Regions from separate parts of the Homo sapiens genome. Here region 2 is linked to region 1. The links are contacts of gene promoters, found by promoter capture Hi-C in human tissues and cell types (Jung and others, 2019). All regions are on one chromosome and are shown on one strand. Each heading gives the region's core, a stretch centred on a gene start or on the middle of the fragment in contact. The rest is flanking DNA. Distances are from core to core; before and after follow the strand shown. Region 1 holds the start of PPP2CB (protein phosphatase 2 catalytic subunit beta). Region 2 has its middle 33 kb from the start of UBXN8.

The links. Contacts are between HindIII fragments. The study calls those that stand out against the background at their distance.
Region 2: a contact is called between a fragment that was not itself captured here and the fragment with the promoter of PPP2CB in region 1, in 3 of the 25 tissues and cell types used here (ovary, pancreas and psoas muscle).

Annotation. Positions count from the first base shown.
Region 1 is chr8:30,810,455-30,814,674 of GRCh38, forward strand. PPP2CB (protein phosphatase 2 catalytic subunit beta) reads right to left here and starts at 2,364. Exons shown (of 7, transcript NM_001009552.2): 1 at 1,866-2,364. The coding sequence starts at 1,967. RefSeq lists silencers at 1,618-1,677, 1,738-1,847, 1,928-1,987, 2,018-2,237. The HindIII fragment of the contact is 3,135 bases long and covers 1,439-4,220 here.
Region 2 is chr8:30,775,303-30,779,522 of GRCh38, forward strand. No RefSeq gene overlaps it. Among named protein-coding and RNA genes, the nearest start is that of UBXN8, 33 kb to the left of the region's middle. The HindIII fragment of the contact is 4,438 bases long and covers 209-4,220 here.

The sequences.
Region 1 (4,220 bases), core at 1,114-3,613:
CAAAAATAAAACAAAAAAAGGAAGTCAATGGGAAAAACTGATTCAACTAACACTTTACCCATAACTTCAAGTCTGTATTCTGATGCTCATAGTCAGGTTAACTGACTCAGATCATTTCAAACCTGTACATTTCACTTCGCATTAGAGCTGGAGAGAGATGTTTAAGGCATAAATTTTAAGACTCATGAAATTACAGGTTATCACAATAAAAATGAATGTCAACTGAAGCCACAAGTAAGCAGTTTGTTTCAGAAAGAGAAAAATACCACTTGCTTGGCACTTCTATTTACAAAAATAAATCCTCCTGTGTTAACAAATAGTTACTTAATACACAAAGGCCCCGACCAACATTACACCCGTTAAAAATATTGTAACTTAACACCATCTATTAGTGCTCCTTTTCTAAGTAAATTTCATGATCTTAAGAGTACCCTAAAATCAGACTAACAAAATCTTTCCTTCTCCAGTGCACTTCTGCCACATCATGACTTCTAAACATTACGGTTAAGAAAATTTTATAGATTACGTTTTAAAATAACATCGTTACTTCTTCATGCACTTCAAGTGAGAATTTTTAACCTAAAAATACATGAAAATTATTTAGTCCACCTTGTAAAGGATGAATGTGGACAACTCTAGACTTCAAAGATGGAGAGATCGAAATAATTTCAGGGGTTAAGAAAACAATGGATACAGAATTTACAAAGTGAAGATCACACACTCACGATGTACAAGAACGAACTGATCACCCGCATGTTTTATTATTCTTTGGAAAAAAACTTTATATATATTAAAAACAAAAATAACTTTCTGCAAAGTGCTATCGTGCATGAAAACACACATCCCACTTATCATTTCCAGCAAACACTGTTCCCAAACTTAAGATCGGCTCTCGTTTCTGAAAATCAACACTTTACTTCCAAGAGCCACTCAACACAAAGACCAGTCACCATCTGTTTCCACCAAAGTCAACCTCTATTTTAAAAATCACAGTTGGCCATCACGCCTACCTCTCCGCAAACAAACGCTTGGCACATTCAAGAATCAGCGATTTTTTTTTTTTTTTTTTTGCTGTCGCCCAGGCTGGAGTGCAGTGGCGCGATCTCGACTCACTGCAACCAGCCTCCACCTCCTGGGCTCAAGCGATCCTCCCGCCTCAGCCTCCCGAATAGCTGGGATTACAGGCACCCGCCGTCACACCCTGCTAATTAAAAAAAATTTTTTGTGTGTGGAGACGGGGCCTCACTATGTTGCCCAGGCTGGTCTCTAACTCCTGGGCTCAAGCAATCCTCCCGCTTCAGCCTCCCGAGTAGCTGTGGCCACAGGCGTGAGCCACCACGCCCGGCTTGAGTTAGTGATTTCTGAGGTGCCCCGTTCACCTGACAAAAATTCTGCATTTATTAACAAGTTCATTAATACGCACGACATTCTGGTTAATTTTAGTTGCATTTTCAGAAACTGGTCTGAAAATGGTCCTTTTCGGACGTCGCTCTCGCTAGTCCACTCGGGAAATGCTAGAGTGGCAGGAACTCCCCAGTGGAGCGCAGGCGACCCCGACCAACCTCCTGCTTGGCTCAGGGGGCTACGTTTCCCCGCCCGTCCGCACCCGAGCCCCCCACGCCCGGGATCTGGGCAGCCGGCCGGGGGCGTGAGGCGGAGGTGGAAGGGGCAGGCGAGGGCAGCCCAACGCCCCGGGCCCTGAACCGATGGGCCGGCCGCCTAGGTGGACGCCGGAGCCGGACCCACAGCCCCGCAGGCCCCCGGTGGGCCGCGCCGGGCCAGGGGCGGACGGGACCGGGGCGGGCAGGAAAGCGGCGGCCCGTCCCAGCCCCGCGCTCCCGCACTCGCCCCCGCGGCGCCCTCACCTTCTCGCACAGCGTCCGCACTTGGTTCTCGTTCAGCTGCTTACACTCGTTCAGCTGCTCGACCCACTGGTCCAGCTCCTTGGTGAACGCCTTGTCGTCCATGGCGGCCCGATCCCGATGCGGATCCCGAGCCCCAGCCCGGCCGCCGCCCTCCCCCCTCCCCACCCGCCCCCGGCCCCGGCCCGGGCGCCGCTCCCCTCTCCCTCCGCCGCCGTCGCCAGGTCCCACAGGGGGAGGACTGAGCCGGGTAGGGCGGCCGCGGGCCCCGCGCCCCGCCCAAGCCCAGCAGGCGGCTCCGAGCGCGCAGCCTGGAGGAGACCCCCGCCCGCCCTTCCCCGCCCGGCCGCGCGCCGCGGGAGTCGGTGAAGGACGCGGTGAGGTGCCGGGGAGCGCGGCGCGGGTCCTCGGCCTAGCTCTCGCCGGACGAAGGCCGCCCGCTGCCGCTTCAGGCCCGCCTCACGCCTACCGGCCTCTCCCGACTTGTCTTTCCCCTTCTCTCGCTCTTTCTCTCCCCTCCCTCCGGGTTTCCGTCATCGCTCGGGCATTTCCGCCGGGAAAAGGCGAGCAGGCGGCGCCGCCGGGACACGGCGCCCTAGGAGCAGAACAGCGCCCTCGCGTGGCTTGGCGGAGAAACGGTCCGAGGAGGCCAGGGTCCCTCTTTTCCCCACCCTGCCCCAGACCAAGCTCTGCTGGTTCTCCCTTTAAATATCCTGATCTCTGGGAACTTTGTCCTCACTTTAGCTTCCTGCAGTACTTTGCAGCGCTCTGGACAGGGAGTTGGAAAACTTGGGCTTCCCTTAACATTGTCTCCCCAGAGTCTAGCACTCAATAGCAGGCATTCAATATTGATGGAGTAAATTAATTATTTCCAGCCTCACCTGTAGCCCCTAACATCTCGAATCCTCCCTTTCGACATTAGAAAAGTGAAATGATTGTTCTGTAGGATAATCTGTGGCCCTTCCAGCTCCAGAGCTCTTGGCTATATTTTCTGCAATGTGTACTGAGTTGTAATGATTTGTTCATTCAACAAATATTTATTGAGAGACAGAACAGGGACCCCTCTTAGGGGCCATCTAGGCACCCCCCTCCCCAAGCATGGAAATAAAGGAAAATCTTGAGTTCCCTGAAGGGACATTCCAGGCACCTAACTTCCTCAATAAGTCAATGAGCAACCTGATAAGCAAGAAGGTAATAATAGCTTAAGACAGTAGCCAAGGACGTTAGATTCACAAAATGTTTGCTTCCCTATAGAAACTAAAGACGACATATGTCCCTGAGTTGTTTTTCAGAAACCTGGACCTCACCAAATGGAAAATGGTGTCCACTGGCATGGAGATCTCAAACTACCTATCTTTGTTCTAAATTTCTTCCTGAGGAGCCTGGAAGAATTCACAAAGCTTTGCCTCCTTAACCAATTGCAAATCAGAAAATCTTTGAATCCATCTATGACCTGTGGGTCCCTGCTTCAGATATCCTGGCTTTTTAGATCAAACCCACGTATAGCCTCCATGTATTGATTTATGACTTTGCCTGTAACCTCTGCCTCCCTGCCTTTAAAAATCCTTACCTGGGCTGGGCGCAGTGGCTCATGCCTGTAATCCCAGCACTTTGGGAGGCCGAGGCCAGGAGTTGGAGACCAGCCTGCCAACATGGTGAAACCCCTTCTCTACTAAAAATACAAAAACTAGCTGGGCATGGTGGTGGGCGCCTGTAATCCCGGCTACTTGGGAGGCTGAGGCAGATGAATCACTTGAAATCGGGAGGTGGAGGTTGCAGTGAGCCGAAATCTCGCCATTGCACTCCAGCATGGGTGACAAGAGTGAAACTCTGTTTCAAAAAAAAAAAAAAAAGCACACAAAAAACCCCTTACCTGTAAACCATCAGGGAGTTGGGGTCTTAAGCATGAGCTGCCTGATTCTTCTTGCTTGGTGCAATGCAATAAATGCCTCACTTTCACTACAAACCCCAATGTCAGTGTTTGGCTTTGCCGTACTTGAGGGAGGACCTAAATTCAGTTAGGTAACATGAGCAGCTGCTAGCTGCCAGATACCTTGAATAGCATGTGCTAAATGATCATACTGTGTCTATTAAAGGTACATACTACTGCGGCTGAACCCAAGTGGAAGGTAACATCCTGTATCAGAAAGCAAGGGTTCTTGTGTTTGCTAACCCCCTAGCTATGTCCTTGGGCAATCATCAAACCTCCGTAAGCCTCAAATTCTTCATCTGTTAAAATCAATAAAAGGCCTACCTTTGTGAAGATTAAGTTTTAAAAGTGCCTGCCCAATAGTACGGTATGGGAGCGATATGTTAGTTGCCTTACCCCTCCTAGGGAACAATTACAGAAAGCTTTAG
Region 2 (4,220 bases), core at 1,178-3,677, 35 kb before region 1:
GAGAATTGAACAAAATGCACGAAGTAACAAAAGAACGAAACAAGGGAAGACAAAACAACAGAAGAAGAGTAGGGAAAACAGACTTATTGAAGACAATTCACAGAGTGAGAGTGAGCTCGAACAAGCGGCTCAAGAGCCTCCTTAATTAGGATTTTTATCAAGCCCAAGGAACCTGGCAACACCCCACGGTGCCCTAGAGAGGCCTCCAATTGGCTACACCCCATGAAGGATTGGCCTGCAACCCAGCAGAGGCTGAAGTGCCTTGTTATGATGGGAGGGAGGATGTGGCCTATATGCTGCACCTGCCGCTCTCCTGCTTATAGGAGCTGGCTGCACCTGCTGTTCTTTTGCTTATGAGAACTGGCTGCACCTGCCGAACCCCCGTTATCCTAATTCTCTATTCGCCTGCCACAGGACCACAGGTGTGTGCCATCACGCCTGGCTATTTATTTATTTATTTATTTTCAGATAGCGTCTCACCCTGTGGCCCAGGCTGTAGTGCAATGGCACGATCTCGGCTCACTGCACCCTCCGCCTCCTGGGTTCAAGCAATTCTCCTGACTCAGCCTCCACAACCTAGTTGATTTCTCTCATGTAAAAGCTTACAGGAGCTGGGTGGTGACTCACGCCTGTAATCCCAGCACTTTGGGAGGCTGAGGTGGACAGATCACTCGAGGTCAGGAGTTCGAGACCAGGCTGGTTAACATGGCGAAACCCCATCTCTGCTAAAAAAAGAAAAAAAAAAAAACACGAACACAAACAGCCGGGCATGGTGGCTTGCGCCTATAATCCCAGCTACTTGGGAGGTGGAGATACCGGAATCGCTTGAACTTGGGAGATGGGGGTTGCAGTGAGCTGACATCGCGCCACTGCACTCCAGCCTGGGTGACAAAGTGAGACTCCATCTCAAAACAAACAAACAAAAAATAAAAATCTGATAAGGACATTGTCTCAGTTCATGGCTTTCATCTTCAAGGTCACCTGGTATTCAAAACTGGATGCTAGGATTCCAGCTATCCTGTCCACACTCCAAGAAGCAGAGAAGAGGAGGCCTCTTTAGAGAGCTTTGGGAGCTTCCACTCACATCTTGTTGCCAAGCTTAGTCCTGTGGCCAGCTGTCATCTTTGAAGGGGGCATATTGCTATTCCTTGCAAAATAGGCCTTGTACCTTGATCTTAGTTAACTGGCCTCAGTTCAGACCTTGTTTCCAACATGACAAAACCCGATGGCCCAGGAGAGGTGGAGGAGGCTGAGACCAGGAGGAGAAGGGCCTTGGGACTATGCTCCCAATGACATTACCGGCAACCCCAGTGCCCCCGCGAGGTGCGGCCCTCAGGAGTGACCCCACACTGGTGCAGGCTGCACCACCCAGGACCCTCCACTGCTGCTGATCTGCCTCCCATGCCTGGATAATTTTTATTTTATTTATTTTTCATTTTTTATCTTTAGCTTTTTTTTTCATTACAAAACCTCAAAGTACCAATGCCTGACTAATTTTTAAATATTTTTGTAGAGACAGGGTCTCACTATGTTGCCCAGGCTGGAATACAGTGGCCCGATCTCAGCTCATTGGAGCCTCGACCTCCTGGGCTCAATTGATCCTCCTGCTTCAGCCTCCTGAGTAGCTGAGGACTGACCACAGGTGCGTGCTACCATGCCCAGCTAATTATTTTTTATTTTTGTAGAGATCGGGTCTCACTATGTTGCCCAGGCTGGTCTCTAACTCCTGGACTCAGGTGATCCTACCGCCTCGGCCTCCAAAAGTGCTGAGATAACAGGCGTGAGATACCACACTTGGTCCTACATGGTCTTATTTAGAGAATTTGCCCTCATTTTATTACTCTTCATCTCTGTATTTCACTTTGTAAACGCTCTTCCTCACTATCATGGATTGATATGGGAGCTCTGCTCATTTGAGCTTAATTATACAGTAGCTATTATCAAAAGACAATATAAAGTCATTCTAGGTTGTTCTACTGTGACCGTGACACTAAGGGGTTTTGTTGTTGTGGGGATAAAAGAAAATAAAGTGACATTTTTCTGAAGGAAATATTTAAATTAAAAAGTGTGAAATTTCCCTTTAAAGGGAGGGAAAAAGCTTTAGTCAGGTAATTGCTCTGCTAGCTGAAATTGAGATTCTAAAAATAACAAGCTCTAAATCATATGGCTTATTTAGACTTCCACTTAGGACACAGAGATCTGTAAAGAATGCTGCTCTCACCCTAGCAACAAGAAACAGCTGGATCTAGCTGGGTGCATGGTGCCTGCATGCCTGTGGTCCCAGCTACTTGGGAGGCTGAGGTGGGGGGATCACTGAGCCTAGGAGTTCAAGACTAGCCTCGGCAATATACTGAGACCTTGTCTCAAGAAAAAAAAAGAAAAGGAAAAGAAACAGCTGGATGATACACAAAATCATAACATTTTTGAGCCCACAGTGAGCTGAGGCTGCAAAGCAATTATGTAAACTGAATTCCAAAAAGAGATAACCCTCTCCAAGGAGAGACGGGACACAGAAACTGTCTTCCCTTTGGCAAAACACGGGAGAAAAGGCAGCTGCTATACAAGCTAAGATTTTGATGTTCGTAAAGGTCACGCATGGGCTACTGCATCAGTTTGGAACCAGACGGGCTATTTAATTTGTGGGCCTTAGTGCAAAATGAAAATGTGGGAACCCTTACTCAAAAGTGAAGAAGTTCAAGATGGCGATAGGCGACAGCAATGCAGTAAACCAAACATGAAGCCCTTCTAAGTGTGGGGCCCTGCACAGGTACCATGCCATGAAGCCAGTCCTGGCTGGGGGCTTCAGACACAAAGGGAGTGCCCATTCTCTAGAAAGTTCTTCCTCCTCACCCTTCACTAGGTGTTCAGGAGGACTGAGACAGGGCAGGAGACCAGAGAAAGCCAACCTCAGAGCAAACAATGAGTGACTGGCGGCTGTAGGGGAACAAGCGCAAAGCTCCACTGGCTTCCCCAGACCCTCCTCTCCTACCAAGCCAAGGTCTTAACCTGCTGGGGAAAGTACAGCAAGTACTATGGCCTGCCAGGAACTGGCAGATCTATTGTCTCTGGAGAAGGAACAGAGGCAGACAAAACAAAACAAAACCAAAACAAAACCCATCTGCTTCTCCCAGGACTCAGGCAAAGATTATTGCTGCTGGCAGAAGGTCGAGGCAAAAATTCTCTACCTTGGAGGGAAGGGTGGATACAGATATCAAACAGATGTCTAGTCTTGCTAGGAATGGGGCCGAAAACTCCCACCCTACGCCAACCATGGACACAAGGAGAAGTTTGGCAGCCACAGGTAGAAGGAGCAAGAATGCTTAGAAAAACCTCACCTTGAAAACCAAAGCACAGGCTGGGTGCGGTGGCTCATGCCTGTAATCATGGCACTTTGGGAGGTTGAGGCGGGTGGATCACCTGAGGTCAGGAGTTTGTGACCAGCCTGGCCAACACGGTGAAACCCAGTCTCTACTAAAAACACAAAAATTAGCTAGGCATGGTGGCGCGCGCCTGTAATCCCAGCAACTCGGGAGGCTGAGGCAGGAGAATTGCTTGAACCCGGAGGTTTCATGCGGAGGTTGCAGTGAGCCGAGATTGCGCCACTGCATTCCAGCCTGGGTGACAGAGCAAGACTCCATCTCAAAAGAGAAAAACAAAAACATAGCACAAAGAGCCAGCCCAAGATTGAGGCTGAATTGGGACAACAGAGAACCTCACCTGCTCCTACCATGAGCCCAGCACTGAGTGATACACAGCAGCAGTCTCCAACTGGGGAAGGGGTGAGGGCATGGAGAAGGACCTCCCTCGTATGCAGGCGTGAAAGGATTGCTGAATGGGGAGCAGGAGCGCCCGAGAAAAACCCAGCACCTAAGCACAAGGTGACAGCAGTCAAGCTTAAATTAGTGGAATTGCAGGCTAATGGGCTGTGATTCCATGGGTAATGATAGAATTCTATACCTAGTAAAATGATCTTTAAAAAAAATTTTTTTTTTTTGAGTCAGAGTTGCCCAGGCTGGGGTGCAGTGGTGTGATCTCAGCTCATTGCAACCTCTGCCTCCTGGGTTCAAGTGATTCTTGTGCCTCAGCCTCCCAGTAGCTGGGTTTAGCAGGCCACCATGCCCGGCTAATTTTTATATTTTTAGTAGAGACAGGTTTTCACCATGTTGGCCCAGCTGGTCTTGAACTCCTGGCCTCAAGTGATCAGCCTGCCTCTGCCTCCC